Linked DNA regions of Homo sapiens: all the other regions are linked to region 4. Evidence: promoter capture Hi-C in 16 types of primary human blood cells and fetal thymus (Javierre and others, 2016). All regions are on one chromosome and are shown on one strand. The core of a region is centred on a gene start or on the middle of the fragment in contact, and the rest is flanking DNA. Distances in the headings are between cores, read along the strand shown.

Region 1 (3,164 bases), core at 354-2,853, 610 kb before region 4:
ACAAAAGCAGTGAAGTAGCCATCATGGAGAAAATAACTTCAGGACTTTCTTACTATTTTCAAGTTTCATACTGTTTTCATTTCAAATTACCTATGGGGGAGGAGGAACAATAATATTTTCAATGCTTAAAACCTCTAAAGTTCATGATCCAGCAACAACAGAAGAGTGCCTTATACACCCTCCATGGTGACCACCTCTGATCATTCTATCTGAAATTGCAGCATGCCACCCACCTTCCCTGAATTCTATATCCCCCTTACACTGCTTCATCTTGCCCCTACCATAGCACACATATTCATTTTTTGTCCATCCCACCCATTAATGCACAGGGAATACTGTTGGTTTTGCTAACAGCTCTCAATGCCTAGCACACAGCAGGTGTTCAAATATTTGCTGAATAAATTTTTCTAAAAACTTCATGAAGTCTTCACTTAATAAGCCGGCATTTCACCTAAAATGTACACTTTCATGGTAAAGAACAAAGCTTCGCATCAAAGCAAAAGTGATTTAATTCTAACTGTCACCAACAGATGGCACTAGCCTCAGATGTTGCCTTGGACTTGAAACCGTGTTTCAAAATATGCATTGAAAAGAACAAAGTCAAAACAAAAATTTGCTTGGACAATTTAAAAGTGTTGAAAAGAAATGTGAAAGTTGAATCCAGTGCCATCACAAAGACAGTCCTCCCATTAACAAGTTCAGGTACAGATACACACACTGCTTAGAGACTTAAAAAGTGGTCTTATGAACAGCATTTCTGGAAACTAATCTGCCATATTAGCAGTGTTGTACAATTATATTTGTTAGAGCCATATAAACAAGCACTTGTTTATGAATTTGAAAACTCCTTATTTCTAATCATATAACAAGTTCAAAGGGCAATTCACATGACCTTCAAGAACAGCCTGTCCTATTTCACATTTCTTTCATTACCTGTGTAACTACCTTAAAATAAAGATAAATACGGCCTGTAAAAGTAGCTGTTTAAACTTCAACCACAAAAGTAGATTTAAAAATTCAGTAGTTAGCAGATGTTATAAATATTGAATATTGTATAAAAGAAGGAGATAAAGGAAAACGACTCAATATTTGATATAATGATTCAGCATGTTACAGAATAAACATCATGCCAAAACCAGCTTTAAGCTTTCCACTGAAAATTTACATCCTCAGGAAGTCATCTGCATACCAAACTCAAATAGGAAAAAAAATACATAAAGCAACTCAATATATGCATCTAAGCTTCATGTTACACAATAACAACTCCTTTTGAATTGGAACAAAGCTTAGATTACAAAAAAAGAATTAAGCACAGGATGCCAAAAAACAGAAAAGACACCTATAAGACAAATGAGCATATATACCAAACTATTTCAGCTGGCAACATCTGAGATCATGCTACCATTGTTTCACTTCATGGTAGCAAAAATTCGGAGTACAGTAGTCTTGACTTTAGAGTTCTTCCTTCTGTTTAAGTCAACTGAACATTACATAAGGCCCCTGAACACAAATCACCAGGTATGGAAGAGATAAAAATTAAGAGACATGTGGCTACATTATGAAATGTCAAGAAAAAGAAAAAAATACTAGCAAAATAGACCATTGGAATCCAGAGGTCAGTGGGTTGAAGAAGTAAGGGATGGCTTCAAAGAAGAGACAAGATAAGCACTGCATCTTGAAAGATGTGAAATGCTGGAGTGGGAAGAAAATAATCCAGGAAGGAATCCTTCACTGTTTAAGTGGAAACTGGGAAGAATGGTCTCGCAGGACAATAGGATAGGGGCTAGCTTACAAAACCCAACTGCAAGGGTGAACTTAAGGGTAGCATGGAAGGTAAACCACTTGAAAAAAAATACTAATTTGACCAAGGTTCACAGGAAGATGACTCAGAAGAACAACGAGAACCAATTATGAAGCTTATCCCCCCGAGCCAAGAATGAGGTAATAAGAATCTGGGGGCAGAATGGCAGTGTAAGTGGGAAGTGAAAATGGAACACTAAAAGCCACCACTAAATGTAGAAATGACGGGAATCAAAGCAAGCACAATCATACCGAGGCAAGTCAGAGGGGCCTAAGTACAGACTCCAGTGCTAGCGCTTCACTAACTATGCAACATTAGGCAAGGAAGTAAGTGAACCTGTCAAAGCCTGTGTCTGAACTTGTAACATGACAACAACACTACACAAGGCTGTGGTAAGAATTTAAATAAGTGAGATATGATAGTCAAAGTGCATGGTAAGTTATAAAAAAATTGATAGATGTTAATCATTTTCCAGTACTTATTTTACAAATACTTAGTCCAAGTTCCTAAAAGTCACTAAGTACCTAACACAGTCCCTGGCATCCGTTAGGTAACTGCTGCTGAAAGGAGGGAAAAAGAGAGAAAGAGAAAAAGTGAAGAGACAAGAGGCAGAAACATCCTAGCTCCCACATAGGAGAATCTTGATTTGGAACTTGGAATCTTTTTATAAGAGTATACTTATAAGCTTCAAAGTTAGCTAATCTGTGTTTTAACACCAACAGTGAGTTCTTACAGTACTAAAAAAAGAAAAAGCTACTAAAAAAAAAAAAAAAAGTAGGACTAAATCAATGTAAACAGGATCTGGAATCAACTCTAAGGTACAATGAATAATCTATGGGTATCATTCAAATCTTAATTAAAACTGACCTATGTTTACTTTTAAGAAAGCTTTAAAAGGACATTTGTTGAGCTAAAATGGAATCTACCCAGTCTCATTTCTAAAAAGGTTTAAACTGAAAAAGAAAAGAAAGCATATGCTTAGAGATTTCATTCTCACATTTAAGGAAATAAGTGTTCCAAAAATAAATTTTAATTTAATCATTTTAATTGTATGTTCATGCTCTTATCTAACACTGTCTCCCTGGAGGTCAACTTTCTGAACACCCAACAAGACAATTAGCCAAAACAAGGTTCTTCCCTATGGTGGGAGGTCAACCAGCCATCTCTTACTGCCTTTGTGCCTGATCACTACACCTGCGCTCTCTCCTGCACATGTCTTATTGCTTCATCACTCGTGGCACTTCTCCACTGCTAAGAAAATCTTGTTGTCCTTCACTGCATCGATCTCGTCAAACAGAAAAGGATTGTGACAAGGCAGCATTCCAGAAGGCCTTGCTTGCACCTGGCACTCAGTACCTCTCGT
Region 2 (3,602 bases), core at 862-3,361, 580 kb before region 4:
TGCCCAAAGTCAAATCCATAAGGCAAGCACCCATTAAAAAGATTACTGGCCATTTTACCTATTTTACATTACACACATCTTTTCCCTAAAACATAAACCACAAGTTATCTCCCACACGCTAATACCAAAAGTTCCCCAGTAAGCTTTTATTCTAGAATAAAAGCACTTTTTAAAAGAAGGCATAAGAACATTTCACTTTTTTAAAAAATGCTTGCAAGAACAAAGTCTATTTACCCATGAGCAAGCTTTTAGATTTCAAAAGCAATATTCAAGGCCCAAGGCTAAACATATAAGAAATAAGTGTTCTTCAAAAGATCTACACTTTAGGCCAAGCGCGGTGGCTCAGGCCTGTAATCCCAGCACTTTGGGAGGCCGAGGCAGGTGGATCATGAGGTCAAGAGATCGAGACCATCCTGGCCAACATGGTGAAACCCTGTCTCTACTAAAAATACAAAACTTAGCTGGGAGTGGTGGCACACGGCTGTAGTCCCAGCTACTCGAGAGGCCAAGGCAGGAGAATTGTTTGCACCTGGGAGGCAGAGGTTGCAGTGAGCAGAGATCGCGCCACTGCACTCCAGCCTGGAGACAGAGTGAGACTCCACCTCAAAAAAAAAGATCTACACTTTAAAATTCTATATTTAGACAGATTTGTTTTCAAAACATATTTATTTCAAATCGATAAATTATATTTATCATGTACAACATGATATCTTAGAGTATACACATTGTGTCTTAGTATACACACATTGTGGAATAGTTAAGTCTAGCTAATTAAAATATGCATTACCTCACAGAGTTATCATTTTTGTGGTGAGAACATTTAACATCCACTCTCAGCATTTTTCAAGAATACAATACAGTATTATTAACTAGTCACCATGATGAACTATTTTAACAGAGTCTAGCCGCCCGATAACAAGCATCTGAAACAAAATTTCATTTTTGCCATCAATATCAATACTATATTTAATTTATGCAGCTCTTCCAAATTTATGAAAAACATTTTTTGTATTAATATATAAACTTGCAGATCTTAAAAGCAAGCAACCAGTAGGAAGTAGCAATACAAAATAGTATTTCTGAGAGCCCAAGAGGTTGGCCTAAAATCAGCTGGTTACTAATATCAGAGACTTTAAACCTCTAAATCCACCACTTTTTCAGTTATACCAGAATTCCCTCCAGAAACAAGAATACTCAACAGATTGGTCATGATTGTCTAGCTGATATCAGAAAGCTTATCTCCACATCCTGCAGCTCACTAGTATTTCTAGTTAAAATAGGAATCCAGTCCATTGGCTTGGGTGTACCAGTTAATTCTTCCACTGAAATAACCTTCAAACAAACTAGAGCCAGAGGCAGGAAAAAAGCCCTGCCATTCTAGCAATAATTTGCCTTCTACCACTCAAATTCAGATTCTCCAACCCATCAACTCCATTCTAGTTGGGTCTTTAATTGTCCCTTAAACTTTGCTCATTCATCCTTCCCACTATTGTCCTACCATGGTCTGTGATACGCTATTCACAACTGCCTAGCCACCCTCAGTTCTCTTAGCCTGGTTCTCCATGTTACAAGTTAGGTTACAAAAAGTTTATTTAGAACAATCCCATTTTTGTAACTAGAAAAAATATATGCAGACATACACGAAAAAAACATTTCTAAGTGGTGGATTTTAGGTGATTTTAATTGTTTTGTCATTATTGTCTAGAATCTGTACAGTTAGTAAGCATTATTTTTGTACTACAAGTTATTAAAAATAAGTTTTTTAAAAAAACTATGTTTTTAAGACCTATATCTTTTGTTTCACTCTTACCTTATTTAACATACATCCTAATACTACCAATATCAGTATATGTCCTTATCTTATTAAATTTGAGGGCATGTGTCATGTGTCATGTGTCCCTAAAACATGCACAACAAATATTTGGTGAGTGAACACTAGAAGCTGTTTCAGCAGATAAAACTCCAAACTTGGCCAGGCGCAGTGGTTCACGCCTGTAACCCCAGCACTTTGGGATCCAGGCGGGTGGATCACCTGAGGTCAGGAGTTTGAGACCAGTCTGGCCAACATGGCAAAACCCCGTCTCTGCTAAAAGTACAAAAATTAGCCAGGTATGGTGGCGCACCCTGTAGTTCCAACTACTCAGGAGGCTGAGACAAGAGAATCACTTGAACCCGGGAGGCAGAGGTTGCAGTGAGCCAAGATCGCGCCACTGCACTCCACTCTGGGCGACAGAGTCACAGACACTCAGTCACAAAAAAAAAAAAAAAAAAAAAAAAAGAGAAGAAGAAGAAAGAAAAAACACCAGATTTAGAGTCAAAAGAACTGGGTTCTAGTCCTGTTGTACTATTAGCTATTAGCTGTATAACTTTAGATAAAATAAATCACTATTTACTACATTTTCTTATTTCTACATTATACAATTGACTGATTTATGTCCCTTTAGGATCTAAAACTCTACAACTCTGACTACTGATATGCTAGTCACTGCTCACAATACAATAATCAAGAAGTGGAGAAAGGGAGACATTTGTTGGTTACGCTCTACTATCGCACAGTCCTCTCTTTTTCCCGCCCTGTATCTCCTTCTATTCTCCCTATACCTCAGCCTTACCTATGACAACCATCCCCAAGATTTCATGTCACTGGGGGAGAACAGTGCAGTCTGTTATGCAGGTGCAGAAAGACAGCCATAAGGGATCTGAGTCCAACTGTTCTGTTCCTCCTGCACAACATGGTACAAAGGAGAGCTTATTCCAAGAAAAAGGGTATCTCTGACTTATGGAATGTCTGACGATTCTATACTAGATTTAAAAAAGGAAAAAAGAACAGGTTTGGAAATATTCTGGGGAAAAGAAAGTCATCTGCACCTTAAGATCTCAAATAACAAACAGGTATACCATGTCAGGCCCAACAGTGACAAATGAAGTTCACTGTAAGTAATTAGAGAGAAACCAAGCTGGCTAATACGTATTGCATGGAAAGCTTCTAGCACTGACTAAGAACAAGGATTTATGGGGTTCACAGAGAAAGGGTAGAAATCATTAAATTCTATCAACTTTGTCCCCTGAAAAGAATTAAAAAAAAAAAAGGTAAATTGTAACACATTAAGAATAAAAAGAAACCGCAAATCAAAGTGGTACTGCTACCTAAAATTATACTTCCAGGAAATAAGAGTTAGATACAATTAACCCCATTTTACCAGAGAAGAAACTGAGGCTTAGAGAAGTTAAAGACTTGTCCAAGGGTACACGGTCATTAGTGACAAAGTCCAATTCAAACCTAAGATTCCTGACTTTCTAAAAGCAGTGATGGAACAACTACAGGATGTCTATCTCTCCTAGTCCAAAGAAAGAAAATGCATATACTAGTTCGTCTTCATGACCACAAATGTCAACAAATTTGAAGACATCTACCTTTCTTCTCCCAGTAACTGGCTCTCATGCATTCTAGAAGCCCTGCATGGGAGCTGCAGGTCTGCGCTATTAGATGTAATCCATTAGATGTAAACAGCTGGATCAGGGCACACTGGCAAGAATGAGTTCTAGAGTCAGAAAGATCTAAGCATAAATCCCAGGCCTGGTACTTACTAAACTGAGAAATC
Region 3 (3,624 bases), core at 438-2,937, 510 kb before region 4:
TCCAGGTGGACAAGGAAGTAGGAGGGAGTGGAAACCAGTCTATCCATCAAGGCAAGTTGAATTAAGCACACTCATCCCTATGTTTGGCAAAACTCTGAGCAACACCAATAGAATGTGCTTGAGAACTATGAGATGGTTTAATTTAGGAGAGGTATCCAAGAAACAAACTATTGACTGGTTTCTTCAAGAAATATCAGTGGATCTTGAAATGCTGCTTGTCAGCATTCCATTCACATGCCTTCTTCTGGCAGGAAAATGTAGAAACAGAATTAGAGCTGCTAATCATTTCTGACTGGAGATGGAAGAAAGGAGTACAGGAGAAATCACTTATAATAAAAAGTCCATGATGCGCTAGAACTTGACAACTTACGTAGTTCAGAATAGGCATGAACCAAGTTCCCATGGACATATGAGCATTAAAAAAAACACACACACAGATAATGAGCAATGGTGGTTTTTGAAGTATATTGTTTCTTCTATGTGCAATTTCTATACTGGATTTGAATTACTGAAGCTTAACTTTGATAGCGTGTTATGAGTAAGGCTAGGAAAAAGGAAGCTTGTTAAAATATCTGCAAAAAAGATGGAACAAGCTTCTTGGACAAAACAATAGAAATGAGAGGCTCTAAAACAGGTCTAATGGGTGAAAGAAAGACAGAACAGAAAGCAATACCAGACAGGAGAATAGCTAAAGTAAAGCCTGGGTCAACTCACCAATAAGATCAAGTCAACAGGAAAATGTCAGCACTTTGATTGGCTGGGATGTAAGTTTGGAGGGAGACTTACAATAGTATCCATTTTTGTGAGCTGTGTTGTGAAGAAAGTTGAAGTATCAATAACCTAGTTAAATGACTAACAATTAATGATAAAATATGTGGATGTAAGCCAAGATTCCTAAAATATGGATTAGCCACATGGCATCACCCTCTCCAGGCAATCCCGTGAGGCTTTCCTGGGGGCTGGAACACATTGGCAGAAAACTATAACAGGAGAAGAGAGAGCTATTAGTACAGGGACAACAGCCTATCCAAAGATCTGGTGGCTCTGGAAGGTGTGGCTCTGGGAGAGTGGACTTCCTAGTTTTTAATGGAAAGGACCATTCAACCCATAAGAAAAAGATTTGTCCTCTTTATCATGCATACAATTGGGTCTATTCTTGGAACTAGAAGCATAAAGCATACTTCTTGATTATTTACTCTCATTAAATCCTTCCCAAGTCCGACAGCCATATAGAAAATTATTGCATTTTGAATTTCACTTTTTTTTTTTTTTGAAACAGGTTCTCACTCTGTCACCCAGGCTGGAGTGCAGTGGCATGATCGTAGCTCACTGCAGCCTTGGCCTCCCGGGCTCAAGCAATCCTCCCACCTCAGCCTCTGGAGTAGCCCAGTCCCTGAGTAGCTGGGACTACAGGTGCATTCCACCACACCTGGCTAATTTTTGTGTTTTTTGTGGAGATGGGGTTTTGCCATGTTGCCCAGGCTGGTCTTAAACTCCTGAGCTCAAGCAATCCACCCTCCTCAGCCTCCCAAAGTGCTGGGATTACAGGCTGGGCCACCACACCTGGCCTGAATTTCAATTTTTTTTTTTTTTTGAGGCGGAGTCTCGCGCTGTCACCCAGGTTGGGGTGCAGTGACGCGATCTCGGCTTACTGCAAGCTCCGCCTCCTGGGTTCACGTGATTCTCCTGCCTCAGCCTCCCAAGTAGCTGGGACTACAGGCGCCCGCCACCCCGCCTGGCTAATTTTTTTTTGTATTTTTAGTAGAGACGGGGTTTCACCATGTTAGCCAGGATGGTCTCGATCTCCTGACCTCGTGATCCGCAAGCCTTGGCCTCCCAAAGTGCTGGGATTGCAGGCTTGAGCCACTGCTGAATTTCAATTTTAACTTTGTATTTATTGAGCAACTACTATATGCCAGATTTGTCCTACACACTGGGAATATAAAACTACAAAACAAAATCTCTGTCCACAAGGAGTTTGGTCTATAGGTTGAAAACTGCATTAAATAATTTTAAAACTATGTATTAAGGAATAAGCACAAGGGAACATAGAGGAGGCAAATCTAAATTAGACTTGGAGGTTGATTATCAGAGTAGGTCATGATAGAGCTGAATCTTAAAGTAGGAGTTATCCTCCAAAATAAGTAACAAAAAGAAGAAAAGACTAAGGAAACAGCATGTTCAAAACCATGGTAACAAGAAAGAAGGTGGTGGAGGAATTCTACTTCTTGCTATAATGAAGTAGCCTGAACATATCAACCACTTCAACTTGAAAACAACCAGGAAAGTTGGGAGAGGGAGGATGAATATAGATAGATATAAATATAGGACAGCCTCCAAAATAGTGAGATCTATTTGAGGGGCTAAGATAAAAGCGAAAAGAGCAGCTCATTGATGTGAGCTCATTATTATAGGTGCCATTATTTCCCTTGGGGCATCTGCTGATTTCAGCTTTTCAGGAGAGAGGCTGAGAAGCTGGGCGGAAGGCTGCTACTAAGAGACAGAGAAACTAGCAGAGCTTCAGCAATTTCATAAGGCTGAAGAGATAAAAACTGGAGTTCAGGCTTGCCAAAGCAGTCAGGACTTTAAGGGACCAACATCTCAGAGAAAAGGAAGAAGTGTGAAGAAGTGATCTTGACACTCAGCAGGAGCATCCCTTAAGGATACCAGTGACTACCTTGCAATACGCCAAGAAACTAAGCTAGAAAAAACAAAACAAAACAAAACAAAAACCCAAAAACCAAAAAAAAAAAAAAAAAAAAAAACCAGCTAAAAAGCTTCCAGCTGCCTGGGGGTAACTCTGAAGATTTCTGAAAGGGCCAGCATGCTGAGTTTGAATGCTAAACAGCCAGTAACCATACAGATGGGGACAAAAGTAGCAAAGGAAAATGGCCAACCATAACACAGAACTATTCTAATGGAAAAATACTGCCACCAATGCCTGGCATTTTGACACTCATGATACAAAGACCACATGCCAGAAAATACCCCACAGCTGTTACCAGAAGAACCAGATGTTTTTGACATTGTTTCAATAAGAACCAAACTCCTTGCCCACAGTCACCTACCTCCTATTTCATGGGGGTGCATCTGGGAAAGGGAATGCACCCACATGTGGGTATGTGGGTGGATATGATATCATATGTGGATGTCTTGCTTCAGGGAAATCTGAGAAATATTATATTAGCTTTCTAACCCTGTAATATCCAAATGCAAACCAGAAGGGGATTGGCATGGATGCTGAGTAAGCTAAATTCCAGTACATTTCCAAAGCTCCAAACCATTAGAGGGCATAAAAGGAGTTCAAGAAAAATCCAATCGAAAAAATAGAATGCAGGAAATAAGGGAGGAAAGGCTTATAATAAGAAAGGTAGTTTTCATTTTCCAGCATCATGGTCGAATACATGCCTAGAATAACCCTCCCATTGAAAACCAATAAAAAATAAGATATACAAAATATTTTTTTTCAAAATGTACCTCAAAACAAAATGAGGGAAATCTCCAAAAGCCAAAAATAGATTGAAAGCAGGTATCCAGAAAGATAAGTTAGTACTGATTTTTTTTTTTTAAAAAAAGAACACACTGAGAGCATCTATACATACCTGATAACCATCAACTTGCATT
Region 4 (3,133 bases), core at 634-3,133:
TGTAATGAGAGGTCAAATTCCATTCTACAAAATAGCACAGAAAACTGGAAATCCTGTTTATAGTTCAGTAAATGACCATTTAATTCAAGTGTCCAATACAACTGCTTCCTAGAGTTCAGTAATATGAATGTCACATATCATACATTACAGCATGTACAGGCTTATTTTTTTCATGAGGAGTATTTGTGTTTCATTTTAAGATCTTTTTTTTTAAGACGGAGTCTCACTCTGTTGCCCAGGCTGGAGTGCAGTGGCATGATCTCAGCTCACTGCAACCTTCCCCTCCTCCCGGGTTCAAGCGATTCTCCTGCCTCAGCCTCCCAAGTAGCTGGGATTACAGGCGCCTGCCACCACACCCAGCTAATTTTTGTGTGTGTGTGTATTTTTAATAGAGGTGGGGCTTCACCACGTTGGCCAGGCTGGTCTTGAACTCTTGACCTCAAATGATCTACCCACCCCGGCCTCCCAAAGTGCTGGGATTACTGGCATAAGCCACCTCAACCAACCTGATTGTAAGATCTTAATTAAACCATAAATTAAGAAGGTTCTGAACTTTTTTTTTTTACATCTCTAGAGTACCTAGTTCACCTATGTCACCTAGTCAATACTGACTGAAACCCAAGATAACCTAATTACTTTCTTGTGATTTCTTCACTCATCCCATGAGACTAACAAATAGGCTAAAAACTCATCTTCCCTGGAAACCTACGCCTTGTGACTTTTCTATTATCTCAGTCACCCAGGATCAATTTTAGACTCTTTCTTTTCCCTTGGCTTCGCACCCTCACTCCCTAATTGTCAAGTCCTAGACTGGTTCTTTTACAATCTCTTGCAAAGCTCCTACCGCCAGCACCCTTGTGCAAGTAATGTTATTCTACGCCCAGACGTAAGAACTAGAGTGACCTACCATTGCAACAAAAACAAACATATCAACAATCCCTACTTAACTAGGGTCAAGTCCATACTCACAACATAACTGGATCTCCAAGCTTATTGCCCCCATCGACCTAGAAAACTCAAGCTTCACCAACCACACCCTGAAGGTCTCTACCTATTCCTGAGGCTTTGCCTGACAATCTGTGGTGCGTACTCCCTTGCTTACGCATGTGGAGAATAAATTCTTTGAGACTCTGCCCCTGCTGTGTTCCCTAAACACAACGGTCAGAAGAGCGACAGCCCTTGGAACGCCCTCAGTATGTGAGCTTTGCTCATATGTCAAGTATAATTTATTGTATTATCTGAGTAGTCATTTGTTTTCCCTGATAAATTTCAGGCTGCTCCAAAAAACATCTGTTATGATCACATGGTGCCCTCTCCCCTTGTATGCCCAATGATTATCTATTGTATTAAAAAAGAAAAGGAACCTCTCCTGACAATAACGCACACAAATATGTTTTAAAGAAAATCTCGGGAGCAGCTGCACAGGCCTGCAAAGAGACTCTCCCCGATCCCACCGCTCAGGCCGGGCCAGCGCCAATCCTGGCGGTCCTGCCCGCCCAGACACGTGCCCTTGTTTGACACACCAGTAACGCTCATTAAGATGATTACGCCGAGACCTTGGAAGTAGAAACGCGCTGTAAAAATAGGCGAGTCCCTGGGTGTTATCGGAGCACTTAGGCGGTTTTTGGACCAGAACCCGTCGCGTGACTGTCCTGGGGCCTAAGCCGCGCGCCCGGGCCGCGGGAGCCGCAACGGCCGCGGGCTGGAAGCTTCCGAGGCGGGGACTCCTCGCATCCCGGGTCTGAGTGCTGTGGGGACGAACCCCGCTCACCTGCACCAGCCTCCGGAGCAGGGGGCTGCGGCTGCGGGCGCCGCTGCGCAGAAGTGCCGCCAGCACAGCCATGGTCGCAGAGGGCTGAGTATCGGCTCCACAGGCGTAGACTAGCGGCCTCCTCCCCAACCCCGCACCCCTAGCGGCCCGGCGCGGGCACCGCCCATCCCGCTTCCTCCAATAGTCGCCTCTCAGTCGGCGGCGATTGGCCGGCAGCCAAGGGCGGGGCGGAGCCTGGCGCTGGGACACCGCAGCCTGGGCCAGGAAAGGTTGACGAGTGAAGGACGTGGATGGAGACACTGGCGCTGGGGTCAACGAGCACCTGACACGCTGCTGGCTCCCGTGTCCACCAAGTCTAACCTGCCGGGGCCGGTGGTTTATGTGTAATCCGAGATTTTTCGATTTACTGAGCATGTTTCCCTTAGGCCTACCCAGCACAAACTCATGAAAATATTTTAGGATTTTTTTTTTTTTTTTTGAGACAAGGTCTCACTCTGTCACCCAAGCTGGAGTGCAGTGACGTGACCACAGCTCACTGTAATCTCGACCATCAGGGCTCAAGCGATCCTCCCTCCCCAGCCATCCCAGTAGCTGAGACTACAGGCGAAAGCCTCCACAACCAGATAATTTTTGTATTTTTTGTGGAGACGGGGTTTCACCATGTTGGCCAGACTGGTCTTGAACTCCTGGACTCAAGTGAGCCTCCCTCCTCGGCCTCCCAAAGTGCTGGGATTACAGGCGCAGGCGACCACGCCCAGCAAATTGTTGTATTTTTTTTTTTTTGTAGAGACTAGGTCTCCCTATGTTGCCTAGGCTGGTTGCTGACTCCTGGGCTCAAGCAGACGGCCAGACTCAGCCTCTCAAAGTGCTGGGATTACAGGCGTGAGCCATCACACCCAGCCGTGAAAATATTTTGAAGCAATCAAATTCCAGGCTCAGTCCAGATACAAATATGGGTAAAAAGGCCTCAGGTGATTCCAGTCCCCAACCTTCAACCACTCCAGCTGAGACCCCAGACATCATGGAGCAGAGACAAGCCATACCCACCATGCTGTCTGAATTCATGGTCCACAGAAACGAGAGAAAACAAATGGTTGTTATTTTAGGCCATTATGTTTTGGAGTATTTTTTTTTTTTAAGATAGGGTCTCGCTCTTGTCACCCAGTCTGGAGTACAGTGGTGCAATCATATCTCACTGCAGCCTCAAACTCCTGGTCTCAGGGGATCCTCCTGTCTCTGCCTCCCAAGTAGCTAGGGGATCCTCCTGTCTCTGCTTCCCAAGTAGCTACGTAGCTAGGACTACAGGCATGCTCCACCATGCTAATTTTTTTAATTTTTATTTTATATAGAGAAGGGGTCTTG

The links. Contacts are between HindIII fragments. The CHiCAGO score rates a contact against its expected background, and 5 or more counts as called.
Region 1: a fragment that was not itself captured here is called in contact with the fragment with the promoter of ACAT1 in region 4 in 3 of 17 cell types (total B cells, total CD8 T cells and activated CD4 T cells); the score reaches 7.8 in total B cells.
Region 2: a contact is called between a fragment that was not itself captured here and the fragment with the promoter of ACAT1 in region 4, in 4 of 17 cell types (naive CD8 T cells, naive B cells, total CD4 T cells and 1 more). The highest score is 5.9, in naive CD8 T cells.
Region 3: a fragment that was not itself captured here is called in contact with the fragment with the promoter of ACAT1 in region 4 in 13 of 17 cell types (naive CD4 T cells, naive CD8 T cells, megakaryocytes and 10 more); the score reaches 10.3 in naive CD4 T cells.

Annotation. Positions count from the first base shown.
Region 1 is chr11:108,732,521-108,735,684 of GRCh38, reverse strand. The region is part of intron 13 of DDX10 (DEAD-box helicase 10); the gene reads right to left. The region is part of intron 2 of LOC124902750 (a long non-coding RNA gene); the gene reads left to right. Among named protein-coding and RNA genes, the nearest start is that of DDX10, 69 kb to the right of the region's middle. RefSeq lists an enhancer at 1,794-1,913. The HindIII fragment of the contact is 631 bases long and covers 1,288-1,918 here.
Region 2 is chr11:108,700,352-108,703,953 of GRCh38, reverse strand. The region is part of intron 9 of DDX10 (DEAD-box helicase 10); the gene reads right to left. All of the region lies in intron 2 of LOC124902750 (a long non-coding RNA gene), which reads left to right. Among named protein-coding and RNA genes, the nearest start is that of DDX10, 37 kb to the right of the region's middle. The HindIII fragment of the contact is 1,749 bases long and covers 1,237-2,985 here.
Region 3 is chr11:108,631,765-108,635,388 of GRCh38, reverse strand. No RefSeq gene overlaps it. Among named protein-coding and RNA genes, the nearest start is that of DDX10, 31 kb to the left of the region's middle. The HindIII fragment of the contact is 2,184 bases long and covers 596-2,779 here.
Region 4 is chr11:108,120,317-108,123,449 of GRCh38, reverse strand. It overlaps ACAT1 (acetyl-CoA acetyltransferase 1), which reads right to left and starts at 1,883. Exons shown (of 12, transcript NM_000019.4): 1 at 1,772-1,883. The coding sequence starts at 1,843. RefSeq lists silencers at 1,672-2,081, 1,683-2,221. The HindIII fragment of the contact is 9,706 bases long and covers 1,712-3,133 here.